Linked DNA regions of Homo sapiens: regions 1, 2 and 3 are each linked to region 4. The links are contacts of gene promoters, found by promoter capture Hi-C in human tissues and cell types (Jung and others, 2019). All regions are on one chromosome and are shown on one strand. Each heading gives the region's core, a stretch centred on a gene start or on the middle of the fragment in contact. The rest is flanking DNA. Distances are from core to core; before and after follow the strand shown.

What was found. The method cuts DNA at HindIII sites, captures the fragments that hold promoters and counts their contacts. A contact is called where the count stands out against the background at its distance.
Region 1: a contact is called between a fragment that was not itself captured here and the fragment with the promoter of CCDC178 in region 4, in 2 of the 25 tissues and cell types used here (H1 embryonic stem cells and adrenal gland).
Region 2: a fragment that was not itself captured here is called in contact with the fragment with the promoter of CCDC178 in region 4 in 2 of the 25 tissues and cell types used here (aorta and lymphoblastoid cells).
Region 3: a fragment that was not itself captured here is called in contact with the fragment with the promoter of CCDC178 in region 4 in 3 of the 25 tissues and cell types used here (H1 embryonic stem cells, lymphoblastoid cells and thymus).

The regions. Positions count from the first base shown.
Region 1 is chr18:33,314,590-33,318,336 of GRCh38, forward strand. All of the region lies in intron 11 of CCDC178 (coiled-coil domain containing 178), which reads right to left. Among named protein-coding and RNA genes, the nearest start is that of CCDC178, 120 kb to the right of the region's middle. The HindIII fragment of the contact is 7,209 bases long and covers 1-3,747 here.
Region 2 is chr18:33,513,908-33,517,530 of GRCh38, forward strand. No RefSeq gene overlaps it. Among named protein-coding and RNA genes, the nearest start is that of ASXL3, 62 kb to the right of the region's middle. The HindIII fragment of the contact is 9,416 bases long and covers 1-3,623 here.
Region 3 is chr18:33,367,669-33,371,529 of GRCh38, forward strand. CCDC178 (coiled-coil domain containing 178) reads right to left here. Exons shown (of 23, transcript NM_001105528.4): 6 at 2,382-2,521. Among named protein-coding and RNA genes, the nearest start is that of CCDC178, 71 kb to the right of the region's middle. The HindIII fragment of the contact is 7,900 bases long and covers 1-3,861 here.
Region 4 is chr18:33,439,154-33,442,753 of GRCh38, forward strand. CCDC178 (coiled-coil domain containing 178) reads right to left here and starts at 1,568. Exons shown (of 23, transcript NM_001105528.4): 1 at 1,500-1,568; 2 at 809-928. The HindIII fragment of the contact is 6,939 bases long and covers 1-3,600 here.

The DNA.
Region 1 (3,747 bases), core at 916-3,415, 120 kb before region 4:
AGATGCTACCCAAATTTTAAAAAGTAGTAAAAGCCCTTCAGGCCTATAGAAACTGAAAATTACCTTCACTGTCGGATCTGACCTTCCATCCCTTCCAACTGGATACTATGCTTACTTAAAACCTGCAGATGGGGGAGACCACAAGATCATTTACAACCTAAATATACGAGCCCATATCTGGTAATGCTCATAAATAACTCTGCCTTAATGTTACCAGGAGTGATGCCTTAGGTTCACCACACCTGAGTAAAAGCAGCCTCAGAACCTAAGGAAAAAAGTCCCACTAACCAAGCTGAATTGCTGTCAGATCTAAGATTCCTGCTCAAAATGATCCACAGGAAACCTTAAAATACATGACATCCTGGAGAATGAGCCCTAGGGCACCGAATCCCCAGAGAAGTCAAAATGTTTAATGGTTTCCTGTCCCCCTCTCACCTGAGGAATAAAAGGCAATTAGGCTTATTCTGGCTGGTACTGGGATAGCAGGTGGTCTCATAGCCCCTAGGGAAGGTTTGCCTACCATGAGTTTACCCTCTGCAACCTCACAACAGGTATAGAAATTCTAGCCTATAAGACTAGTGATGCCCTTACCCTCCTCAAAGTCTCCCTAGACTCACTAACTAACACTGTGCTTGATAATCGTCTGACTTTTGATTATCTCTTGGCAAAAAAAGGTGAGGTACGTGTGGTCACCAGCTCTTTCTGTTGTGCTTGGGTAAGTAATTCAAGATTAAAAACAACGAAAAGACATTAAAATCATCTACAACCAGACCAAGTGGTTGCACCAATTTAACCAAAAGGGCACAGACCCTCAAGGAATATGAAAATGATAAAACAGGCCAGCCCTGATTTCACCCGGTTTCTACCCTTCCTGAGCCCTTTAGCTACCATCCTACTTATCTTGATCTTCAGGCTCTGTCTCCTAAACTCTCTGATCTCTTTTATGTATAAGCAAATCGAGGCCATACACGGATATAAAAAGGTAGGCTTATACCCAGGAGAGAACCAGATCTACCTAAGACTAGCTAGGGAAAAAATTCACTCCTCTAACAGGCCCCATATTGTCAAAAGTGTTCGAACCAGAGTGACTCCATTTTGACTGGGGGCTAGGAAAATGAGGCTGGTCCTTGAAAGGCTGCATTCTCAGAAATTTAGGCATTCCTGGCCTCTAGATGTTTATGTTAAGGGAACAAACTAATAATGTTTACTAAACAGACCCAGATTTGGGAGTGTCCATATATCCCCATATCTGGCAAACAAAGGCATTCCTAATTTTGTGTTAAAGATAATAATACCGATTCTTGCAAAATATAGTAATTAAGAAAATTAATCCTTCATCACAAACCCTTGTAGCAGAGCACATCTCCCATATATACAAGCATTGTACCTAGAGTGGACACGTTCCTCCTCTTACTTTCAGAAACGTCCTAGTCTGTCTATGGAGTATCTGTCCTTTTGAGAGGTGACAGCGTGCTGGCAGTCCTGGCAGCCCTCGCTTGCTCTCAGCGCCTCCTCAGCCTTGGCGCCCACTCTGGCGGAGCTTGAGGAGCCCTTCAGCCCGCCGCTGCACTGTGGGAGCCCCTTTTTGGGCTGGCCAAGGCCGGAGCCAGCTCCCTCAGCTTGTGGGGAGGTGTGGAGGGAGAGGCGCCGGCGGGAACCGGGGCTGCGCGCGGTGCTTGCGGGATAGCGCGAGTTCCGTGGGTGTGAGCTGGGAGGGCCCCACACTCGAAGCGGCCGGCTGCAAGCCCAGGGCAGTAAGGGGCTTAGCACCTGGGCGGGCAGCTGCTGCGCTCGATTTCTCCCCGGGCCTTAGCTGCCTCCCCGTGAGGCAGCGCTCCGGACCTGCAGCCTGCCATGCCTGAGCCCCCCGCACCCCTCCCCCCACACGCCGTGGGCTCCTGCACTGCCCTAGCCTCCCTGACGAGCGCCGCCCCCTGCTGGATGGCGCCCGGAGAGCAGGTGCAGGGCACTCCTGGCAGCTCCACCTGCCGCCCCAGTGGGAGATCCACTGGGTGAAGCCAGCTGGGCTCCTGAGTCTAGTGGGGACTTAGAGAACCTTTATGTCTAGCTAAGGGATTGTAAATACACCAATCAGCACCCTGTATCTAGCTCAAGGCTTGTAAACACACCAATCAGCACCCTGTGTCTAGCTCAGGGTTTGTGGATGCACCAATCGGCACTCTGTATCTAGCTAATCCGGTGGTGACTTGGAGAATCTTTATGTCTAGCTCAAGGTTTGTAAATGTACCAATCAGCACTCTGTGTCTAGCTCAGGGTTTGTAAATATACCAATCGACACTCTGTATCTAGCTAATCTAGTGGGGACATGGAGAACTTTTGTGTCTAGCTCAGGGATTGTAAACGCACCAATCAGCACCCTGTCAAAACGGACCAATCAGCTCTCTGTAAAACAGAACAATTGGCTCTCTGTAAAATGGACTAATCAGCAGGATGTGGATGGGGCCAGATAAGAGAATAAAATCAGGCTGCCCAAGCCAGCAGTGGCAACCTGCTTGGGTCCCCTTCCACACTGTGGAAGCTTTGTTCTTTCGCTCTTTGCAACAAATCTTGCTACTGCTCACTCTTTGGGTCCACACTGCCTTTATGAGCTGTAACACTCCCTGCGAAGGTCTGCAGCTTCACTCCTGAAGCCAACGAGACCACGAACCCACCAGGAGGAATGAACAACTCCAGACGTGTGGCCTTAAGAGCTGTGACATTCACCGTGAAGGCCTGTGGCTTCACTCCTGAGCCAGCAAGACCACGAACCCACCAGAAGGAAGAAACTCCGAACACATCCGAACATCAGAAGGAACAAACTCTGGACACGCCGCCTTTAAGAACTGTAACACTCACCGCAAGTGTCCGCGGCTTCATTCTTGAAGTCAGTGAGACCAAGAACCCACCAATTCTGGACACATTTTCACCACTTTACCTCTCTTAATAAACTTGCTTTTGCCTTGCACTGTGGACTCACCTTGAATTCTTTCTTGCACGAGATCCAAGAACACTCTCTTGGGGTCTGGACTGGGACCCCTTTCCTGTAACAATATTAACACCCAACTTCAGATTCAGAAAGTTGTAGAAGACAGACTTTTACTCCTCAGCACCATTCAAGAATGAGGAGTGAATATACAGAAAAGGGGAGATTTGTTATCCAGTGCAATGCCTACATGACATAGCTGAATTTCTACCCTGCCTTAACTCTGCTTATCTTTAAGAAACAGAACACCTGTGATTAAAAAAAAAGTTTCCTTTGTAACCAGACCAGCTGAGACAGGTTTAAGCCAAGATAGCCAACCAAAGGACTTCAAAAGGACCTCAGGCCTCATTATAATCTCATTTCCATGCTAAATGGAATGAGCACCCAGCAGCACCGTGACCATTGCCAATCCTCATGAAACAACCGGAAGAAGGCATAGGAGGACAAAAATGAAGCAGCACTCTGGTTCTGGGAAGTTGACTACCTATTTCCGGAAAAGATAAGAATATTCCCTCCCCTTGCTTTTAATGTCCAACCTCCTCATTAAATAAATCCTATATTTTAACACCCTCACCCTTCACTAGTGGAGAAGTTGAGTTGTGAGCCATGTTACTACTTCTCAATTCCATGGTCTGCACTGCTTAACACTCACTTTTGGTTTTGTGTATTGGTATTGTGACTCCAAACAAGGAAAGATCCCATCTTCTGGGTGAGTGGCTTTGTCAGTAAAATGAATATCAGGGAGGAGAAGCTGAGATCATTGG
Region 2 (3,623 bases), core at 374-2,873, 75 kb after region 4:
CCAGCCAGGCCATCATGGTGAAACCCTGTCTCTACTAAAAAAAATACAAAAATGAGCCAGGCATGGTGACACGTGCCTGTAGTCCCAGCTACTCAGGAGGCGGAGGCAAGAGAATCACTTGAACCTGGGAGGTGGAGGTTGCAGTGAGCTGAGGTCACACCACTGCATTCCAGCCTGGGCAACAGAGCAAGACTCTGTCTCAAAAAAAAAAAAATTAGAATAAAGAAATTATGGAAAAATTTAGAAATATTTTGAAACAAATCATAAGGGAAACACAACATACCAAAACATAAGGGAAACAGCAAAATCAGTACTAAGAGCTATAGTACTATAGCTATAAATTTATTGCTATAAATGCTTACATCAAAAAATAAGAAAAACTTCGAATAAACCACCTAACAATGCATCTTAAAGAACTAGAACAGCAAAAGCAAACCAAACCCAATGATTACAGCAGATTTCTTCACAGAAATAGAAAAAAATCCTAAAACGATATGGAACCACACAAGACCCAGAAAAACCCAATCTAATGTAAGCAAAACAAAAAAAAGGAGGAATCACATTACTTGACTTTAAATTAATACTACAGAGCTATAGTAACCAAAACGGTATGATACTGGCATAAAAACAGACACACAGATCAGTGGAACAGAACAGAGAACCCAGGAATAAATCCATATATCTACAATGAACTCATTTTTGGCAAAGGTTCCAAGAATATACATTGGGGAAAGGACAATCTATTTGATAAATGGTGCTGGGAAAACTGGATATCCATATGCAAAAGGATATTTACTTAGCATGAAAAGGGGGAAATAATCTCAAAGCATAATAATATCATCAGAAATATTCAATAAAATATTATTAGGTATGCCAAGAGATGACATGACCAAAGCCAACAGGAAATAAGTAGATTTTAATAAAATAATCAAATATAATACACATATTTGAATTAGCACACAAAGACTTTAAAATTATTATAATTGATATGTTCAGAAAAATAGAGAACAATTTATTGACAATATTGAGTTTCATCAGAGAATTAAAATATACAAGAAAAAATACACAACTGAGATTCTAGAACTTAAAATACAATGTCTAAAACTAGAAAGTTACTAAGCAAATTAGAAATGGCAGGAAATTACCAGCAAATTAGAAATGGCAGGAGACAGCATGAGTAAACTAAGGTACAGATTACTGGAAACCCAAAATAATGTACAAAAAAAGACCTGTAAAATGTGTAATAAGAGTCAGTGAAAAAGAGAGAGAGAGAATGAGAGAGAGAGAGAGAGAATGGACCATAGGCAATATTTGACATGTCCGAACATCTTTAAAAATATCTAGGAATCCCTAGAAGGATAAACAAAGGTTACCCTAGGCTTGTTGTGGTAAAACTGATGAATAGCAATAAGAAAGAAAAAAATCCTAAAAGCAACAAGAGAGGAGAAAAGACTACATTACCTGCAATGGAGGAATAATGAGACTAAAGATGGAACACAATGGAATGACACAATCAAAGAAATGAAAGGAAAAGCTGCTAACCTAGAATTCTTTAACCAGTACAAGCATTTTTCACTGTACCTTGATGGAGGTAAAATAAACAGGTTTTTCAGACAGAAACTGCCAGAATGTGTTGCCTACAAACTTGCACTAAAAATATAAAGCAATTAAAATTCTAGAGCTGTGCTATATAAAAACCTTGTAAGTTATCAATGCTTAGAACAACACAAAATCTGAACATACTAAAAATCAATGACTTTCTTTATCAGATAATTGAAATCACAGGGCAAACCACCACCTTAAAATTAGGAAAGAGATGTGAATACAGAGGCGCACCTGAGATCTGCTTACCTAGAGCTGTTGGAGCCATAATCTGCTAGAAACATGTAATGGCCATTTTCATCAACTGCTGGAAGCTGAGGATAGGTAGACAAGCTTGAGAGTGAAAATGCCTGGGGGCCCCATCATTTCATGGATTTTAACTCTAGGAACTCTGCCAGGTTCTCAAAGAAAAGATCTAATAAAAATGCCCTCCTGATTCTGGCAGGGGCAATGGTGAGTATCCAGAGCATTCTTGATAAAGAAAAGACCTACTCTCCAAGGGAAAAGACTTTATCAGAGCTTATCTGACCTGTGGAAAAGACAATTAGCCAACTCTAGCACCATCTATCCTTCCTGTCTCACCCAGAGAAGGAATAAACAAAGCTGAGAAGTTTTTTTTTCTTTTTTCTTTTTTTTCTTTTTTTGAGCCTGAGTCTTGCTCTGTCACCAGGCTGAAGTGCAGTGGTGTGATCTCAGCTCACTGCAACCTATCCTTCCCAGATTCAAGGGATTCTCCTGCCTCAGCCTCCTGAGTAGCTGGAACTACAGGTACACACCACCACACCCAGCTAATTTTTGTATTATTAGTAGAAACGGGGTTTCACCATGTTGGCCAGGATGGTCTCCATCTCTTGACCTTGTGATCCGCCCTCCTCGGCCTCCCAAAGTGCTGGGATTACTGGTGTGAGCCACCACACCAGGCCGTTGAGAAGCATTTAAAAGGTCACAGCTCAGGGATGCAGGCCCACTAAAACACTGATTTTAATCAAAAGATTATCAAAGGCTTCCTCTCCCCCTCACCTTACCACAACATCAATAAGGCAAAAGTATAAGAACATTGAATTGCAACTAAAAGAGCTGCAAGACACAGAATCTGTTTTAAAAGGGATTCTTAGGGAAATTCAAAGATAATAGGAAAGGAGAAAAATAAGGATACTAGAGAAATTGAACCCTCTGGCACCCATAGCTACAGCGAACATTAAACACAGCTCATTGATATGCTAAGAAAGATAATAAATAGAATCATATAAAATATTCAATTAAAACCAGAGAATGAAGAAAATGAGAAGATAAGCAAAGAACAACTGCAATTAACATAAAATACTTGCAAACATGGTATATATTAATCCAACTATACCAATGATAACTTTAAATGTGAGTGTCCTAAATATTCTAATTAAAAGACAGAGACTGTCATAATAGTGAAGGAAAGACAAGGGCCAACTATATGTTGTCTACAAAAATCTGCCTTAATATAAAGATGTTGGGAACAGGCCCCCAAATCTGGCCATAGACAGGCCCCAAAACTGGCCATAAACAAAATCTCTACAGCACTGTGACAGGCTTGTGATGGCTATGATGCCCAGGCTGAAGGTTGCTGGTTTACCAGAATGAGGGCAAGGAACACCTGGCCCACCTAGGGCGGAAAAACCACTTAAGGTGTTCCTGAACCACAAACAACAGCATGAGCTGTGCCTTAAGGACATGTTCCTGCGGCAGATAACTAGCCTGAGCCCATCCCTTTGTTTCCCGTTTTAGTTAATCTATAATCTATAAAAACAATGCTTATCACTGGCTTGCTGTCAATAAATATGTGGGTAAAACTCTGTTCATGGCTCTCAGCTCTGAAGGCTGTCAGCCCCCTGATTCCCACTTTGCACTGCATATTTCTGTGTGTGTGTCTTTAATTTCTCTAGTGCCGCTGGGTTAGGGTCTCCATGACTGAACTGGTCTCAGCATAAAGAGGCATCTAGGTTAAAGGTAAAGTGATGGAGAAAGATATACCATGGTAACACTAATCA
Region 3 (3,861 bases), core at 115-2,614, 72 kb before region 4:
AAATACTGCATAGATTTGAACTAAATATCTAATGGAGAGTCCTCATCATTGCACCAAACATAGTACTTATGTTCTATTTACCAGTTCAACACTAGCAAATCTAACTGCACAGTCAATAATAAAACAAAATAAGATAATTTTTAAATATAGAAAATAGAAAATCTACAAAATAACCTTGAAAATTAACAGAAAGTTTGTCATTAGCATTTATTTCATAATGAATCTCCTTTCAGATAAAACTCGTATTTATTTATTCATAAACAAAGAATTATCATTATTGAAATTTTTGTCTAGAAGTGTACTTTTCTATCATTGTTATTGTGTGTTTCTTCTCAAAGTATCAACTAATATTCTCCTAAATGAGAATTAAGTTCTCTCCAAGGATATAAAACAGAGGTTGAATGGACTTTGGAGTCAGATGGAACTAAGTACAAATTCCAACTGTAGTGCTCACTACCTGTGTGATGTGTACATATAAGGTATTTGACTTCTCTATGCCCTAGAATTCTCATCTGTACAGTAGAATTTCTATAAAGGGCAAAACAATAAATATTTATTAAATGTCTAGAAAATAGGAGAGGTTAGGTACATAAATCACCATTACCATATGGAGTGGATAGGTGCCTCAGATGTATGCAGAATAGAAAGGTTCTGTTTTAGATCTTCATTTACTTTTTTATTCAACAGACAGTTATTGAGTGCCTACTATTTATCTGGCACTAATCTAGGCCCCAGAAGACAAGAGTAAAGAAGTCAGCTCTGGTGCTTCTCCTTTTTTGAGGTTTTTCAATATATTTACATGAGAATAGCTCTTTTTTTCAGTTTTTTTAAAGATAAGATATAAAATATCTTGGCTCATTTTGTAAACTATTTTATCTAAGGTAATATTTTACCTGCCCTATTATCCATAGTATCTAACAGTTTATCAACTGTTCAGAGCACCAAGTCGGATTCAGGAAAGAATATGGGCTTTGAAAACAGACAGAGGGTGTGTGAATCCCAATTCTGCCTTGTGAGCTTGAACAAGTTGCTGAATTGTTTTAAACTACTATTTCCCTATCTATCAATTAGGTATAACAATAACCATTCAATAGTTTTGTAAGGTCTAAGAGCAATGATGTAGTAAAACATAATGTCTGACTTATATTAGTTTTTTAATCAATGGTAGCTGTTATAATTATTTATTAAAATACCTGTTTTAATTATTTATTAAAATACCATTATACCATTTTAATAAGTGGTAGTTGTTATAATTATTTATTAAAATACCTATGATTTTTATCATTTTTAACAACATGGGTAATTGTTAATTAAAACTCATAGGAAGTATATAGCATATCATAGCAACAAATATTAATTTCTGCTCTTTATTTCCTTGCCATAGTCTTCAAAGCCCAGGACACCATCAGTCCTGTGACCTATAAAGCATTTCCTGAAGGGGTAATCTGATTTGGAGAAATATAGAAACAACAAAGGTAACACAATGCTGATATAGAATGATATAAATAATATAGAAGTAACAGTGACAAATATATATTGAGTGCATATCATTTGCTGGTACTTGTTCTAATATAGTATCACTATCTCTTCATTCCCATCTAAGGTCACTCTAAAGCCTGCAATCTTGAAGACTGTACTCTAATGATCTCTAACAAAAGAGGTGACATCCTAGACTGAGAATTGTAAGTGGCCCATCAGAATGTTTGCTGAGCCAGATCCAGTAACAGTGGAGAGAAAAAAAAAATAGCACAGGTCTCTGGAAAATTGATCTCCCATTTGAGCAGTCTAATTCTGCATTAGTTGTTCAGAAATATAATCTTAATAAAAGGTATGAGAAGTGGTATTTTTTGTCATTCTTAAATCATCCTTTGAAAATAATTGCCTTTCAAGATTGAACTCCCTTCAGAATAATAAAGGCAAACTTTTAACAGGTTAAAAAGACATAGAATCATTATATTCCTTTTCAATAGAACTATTAAGCATTTCTTTAGAATAAAACAACTCATTAAAAAGGGCACACTGTCCTTTTATACACCAATTTAATCATCTAATCAGTTTAGTGTCCCAAAAAGTATGTAAATACTACTTAATTTACTAGTGAAGTTGGCTTATGGAAATTACTACTTAGCATGATTGCCTCTGGATAAAGAACAAACAGGTAGGGAAAAAAACATCGATTTAATAAGGTCGTTTCACCCTTCTGGAGTGAGACTATCAAAAACATGTCTAGACTAGTAAATGATGCAACTGAGCAAAGATTCTTAAAAAGCATTCCAATTATCATTTAAAAAGTCCAGAGTTTCCTGGGTTCTTTAAATAACCAATCCTTAGAGGGTCGATAAAGCTTACCAAAATATCAGCATTTTAAATTAGTCTCTTACCCTTTTCAAATGCTCCTGTATTTTGGACTCCACATCTTGGATGTGTGAAATCATTTTGTTGACACAAGGTGCTGGAATATTTACTACGGCACAGCTGTGACGTCGACATGGGTAGCTAAAGTAAATGCCTTTATTCACCCCTAAAGAGAACAAATAGAAGTTCATTACTCATTCTATACAAAGTAGTAAATTTTGATGTTCAGAATAAGCAAAAAAATTCTGCTTTATTAGTGCTAATACTCTTAGTTTCCTTAATAGAGAGGCTGAGAAATCTGTCAGAAAATTATAGAACAAATCTTTAAAAAACGTACAAGCTAAAATAAAATAATCATTTATGATTTAATTCTGTAACAAATAAAAATGAACCCGAGAAGCCAAAATAAAACTTCAAGCAAAGTTGAAAAACATAGCATTGTGAACTAAACATAGGAAAAAATGAAGGAAAAAAAGGCAGAAAAAACAGTTGACCCATGTGTTACTAAACAGATTCTGAATCTCTTAAAAATAACTTTGAAATATATTTTAAATATTCCCTTCAAAGAGATGCTCTCTTTCAATGTAAATAATATCCAACTACTCATGCATTGAAGTTCTTCCTTAAATCCAGCATGAGTTTCTCTTGCTGAAAAAAATAAAAGCAGGTCTCCTTCATCCTCATAATAACCTCATTTTCTACCTTCCATTTCTGAAAATTGGAGTCTCATACGAAGAGTGATTAATGTTCTCACTATAGTATTCAAGCTGTACTCATCATAAAATCCACTCAGTCCGATGTGCCTCAGTGATTCTAATCCTAGCATGTCCCAAATCGACTGAAGGTTGCAGAAGCACAGCAAAGTTGTCCATGAAACTCCACCAAAGTGCTTACTTGCAGTCCTTTTGACTCTAAGGACTCTATTGGGCTGGATTATAGTTGCAATCACTGATCTTAAATGGGAGACACAAAATATGCTCAGCGCCTCAATGAGAACAGTGTGATGTCCTCATTTCAATTGACCTTGAGGGAACAGAGAAATAATCCTGTTGCGTTTTGTTTCAATGCCAACCCACAGAGATGGTAAATATTTTTGGTATCTTCATTTAAACTGCAATCTTTTAAATATCTTTTAAATGAAGCCTTATAATATCTTCCTCTAGAAACACAATCTCTTGTAAAAATGGCATGTTTCATTTATAAATAAAAGTGTTCAGTCTATTCTACAATGTTCGACTCTCTCTCATATATGTGTGTGTGTGTATATATGTGTATATATATATAAATGACCTTTTTATGAGCACTAAAAATATGTGCCAGACATAAAGCTAAGCTAAAAATTTTTGATGCCACATTTTTTTAATCCCCACAACAATCTTATAAAATGGGATTATTATCTTGATTTCATAGATGAGGAAATCAAGGCTTAAATAAATTATATAACTTGTCTAAGTCTACGGAACAGGTAGGTAGGAGAACTGAGACTTGAACTAAATCTCCCTGGTT
Region 4 (3,600 bases), core at 318-2,817:
ATCATGGTTCTAGACTGGTGGAATAAGCCAGTGTGAGAATGAAGTCCATATTATAAAGATAAAAGAAAGAAGAATATATGCAATTATCCCGTTCACTGCTATGGAATATAGAACAGGAAGAAAAATTCTGAGGATGTGGTAACAAATTAGTTGAGTCTAAGGTTGTGTTGAATCTGAGGTGGGAGCAGGAGAGAGAAGTCTGGGTTGTGGATAAAAGCTCTGGCAGCAATCCCAACCCATCCAGGGATAGTGGGTAGACTAACAATCAAACTCATATTTTCGATAGTTCTGGAAATTAGACAGATATAGTTTATAATAAAACTTTATGACTGCAACAGTAAAGTAAGAAGTATTATATATTCAAGATAGAAATACACTAGTTTCTGTACGAATGTCTAAATAACAATTGAACATAAATAGCTGAAAATCCTCTGGATTCTTGGATTTGTCTTACAACTAGTCATGTCTCTGAGTTCTTAAACTTGGTAAGTGGTGTTCTAAAACCTATTACTACAGCAGGACCAAGAAACAATATTTTGAGGGTAGGAGGGAGATGTCAAGAATGCTGTATTTGGGTCAAGATGCCCAGAGCAATCAATACACAACAGATTATCCAATGATAAATAGGAGTGATAAGCTACCAAGTCAATTCACAAATATTTATTGAGCAGTGGATGAATGTCAAGAAAACAATAATAGAAAATGCTTTGAATTGGCAATCGGGAGATTCTTATATTCCTGAGTTTGAAGATTGCTGGATCTGACTTTTGTCAAATCACAAATCAGCTCTGAATATCACTTTTCTCACCTGTAAAGGGGAGGTGTTGGCGTGGATCATCTTATTTGGGGTGCTTTCGAGCAAGCAAGTATAAAATTCTCAGCCTCTCCGCCAGGAAGTTGTTCAGTATTTGACTTGATTGAGCAGACACTTAAAAAATTAAATATCAAGAAAAGAAATCAATAACAGTTCAAAGGAATAATACATGAGCCACCACAAGGCGGCCTTATAAGCAAAATAAAAGTTGAAATAATTATTTTAAAGGAATAAGACGCTAGAGACGCAGTTACAGACAAGACGAAGTTCCTCTAGGCGGCCAGCGGAGGGAGACTCTGCTTCCCTTCCCCCGGCAGTGGGGACTGGGGGACTGGGGGACTGGGGGACTGGGGGACTGGGGGACTGGGGGACTGGGGACAGGGGTTGGAGGACTGGGAAACTGGAGGACGGAGAACAGGGGGACAAAACGACTGGGGGACTGGGGAATTATGGGACTGGGGATTTGGGGAATTGTTTTCAAACGCGCGGGGCAAGGACTCCCCACCGCCTCTGGAAGGGGTGAAGAACTAGTCGACTCTAACTCCCTCAGGGTGGCCAGGGAATTGCATTTGGTTCTCCCGCGGGAGTCGCGCAGGCGGGCGGCCAGGGGGAGTGGGCGCCGCCCGGCAGCGCCCCGCGCCGAGGCACAAGCGCCCGCGCCGAGGCACAAGCGCCCCCGACTCACCGGCTCCGCGCGTTTCCCCGCGCGTCTCCCGGACCCGCGCCTGCCCACCCCTCCGGCTCTGCTGCGGTCGAGGCCCCAAGTCGGTTATCCCGTGTCCAGGCAACCGCGGGGGCGGCGGCGGCGGCGTGAGGAGCGGGCGGCTGCTGCTCCGGGGCCTCCTGGCTCGAGCCCTTAGCCCCCGACTCCCGGCGTTTCGGCGCCCGATCAGCGCTCCAGGCCGCCCCCGCTCCGCCTTCTCCCAGTGCCTTTCCCTTTCTCTTGTAACCGATTTGCCAACCCAACTCCTTTCCCTCTTTACCGGAGAGGGAAGGAGTGGAGACGAGTCAACGCCCCTTCGTACAGCAGTGAGGTTAGAACGTGAGGGGATCACAGACTTCGTCCACCTTCGGGAGGACCGCAGGACCTCTTTCTTTCTTGCCACTTGGGATGATACAACCAGGACTCCATGCGATAACCCCATGTGGTTTGGTTGTGACTTCAGTATTGAGAAACCTCAACAAACTGTTAAGGAAGAAAGAACTTTTCCTAGTGTCTGAAAGTGGGGAAAATGACTAATTCAAGACTAATTCAAGCCATTTCTCTAAGGGTCTGTTTCTTTCAAAAACAAATTTTTGAAGCATTGATCCTTCTGACAAAATACTAAGTGGCAGGCCGGGTGTGGTGGCACAACCCTGTGCCAGGCGTGTCCTGTCCCAGGACTTTGGGAGGCCGAGGCAGGAGGATTGCTTGAGCCCAGTGGTTAGAGGCTGCAGTGAACTGGGATCGTGCCACTGCACTCCAGCCTGGGCGACAGATCAATAAATACATAAATCAGTGGCACAAAATGTATTACCTACATTTTGTTTCTTCATCTGTGAATATACACTGTGAACTGAAATAGGCTTCAGAGGACAGTCGTGTCTTACACTATTGTCACCGTCTTCTTCAATGAAAACAAACACTGGACTATAAACTGAAGATGGTTAAAAAAAAAAAACAGAATCAGAATAAAGATTAGCATTCTCATCCAGAGAAATCATTTTTCCAGGCAACACTGAGAACAGGCAATTGCCTGCCAAGGTTAAATCAGCAAAGTCTATTACTTTAAGAGGCAATTTAATTAGTAATCCTTTCTAAGAGGGGAAAACCAGCAAGTCCGTACCTGGAATGTGGTCCTTTCAGCCAAAGATGAAAAAAAGGAAGCAATAACTAACAAACTGGTGGAAGGTCTTAATCTTAAATTAATATATGCAGAAGCAGAGCTCTTTTTGTAATTAAAAAATGGATTCAAGAATGCACTCCACTTTCCCATCTCCCTCCATTAATTATTAAACTTTGGCTTGTTCTCAATACAATGTTAAATTATAAACCAAATGAATCATTTGCATGCCAGTAAATATGTATTCATGAGGGTTCACAATATGTAAATGTGCATATTAAAACAATAGCTAGATTTTTTTCTCATAAAATAAAACTTTACCTACTAGAAATCTCATTATTGACAAGTTTCTCTTAATTAGAACTCACTGATAATTGCTAAACCCCTGTTGTGGCAGGCAGAATTCTAAAATGGACGCCCATGACCCTACCCCTTGGTATACACACCTGCATAATCCTTAGGACTTTAAATTTGGTGGATTTCATTTTCCTGATTAGTTTGTTACCTGACACAATTGACTTGAAAAAGGGAGATTATCCAGGATGGGTTGGCCTTTATTAGGTAAACCCTTAAAAGGGACTGACCTCTTCCTGGAGTCGGAGGTTTGAAGCATCAGAGGGATTTATCAAAGGGATATTCTCTATTGTCACCTTTGAAGATTGACAAGACCCTATGGTAAGGAAGGCAGGCAGCCTCTAGCAGCCGACAATGATCCCAGGTGACGGCGAGCAAGGCAATGGGGACCTCAGTCCTACAACTGCAAGAAACTGAATTCTACAAATAATCTGGATGTGCTTGGAAGAGAACACTGAACTCAAAATGAAAATATGTCCTGGTTGGGCACGGTGGCTCATGCCTGTAATCCCAGCACTTTGGGAGGCCAAGGCAGGCAAATAACTTGAGGCCAGGAGTTCAAGACCAGCCTGGCCAACATGGTGAATCCCCGTCCCTACCAAAAATACA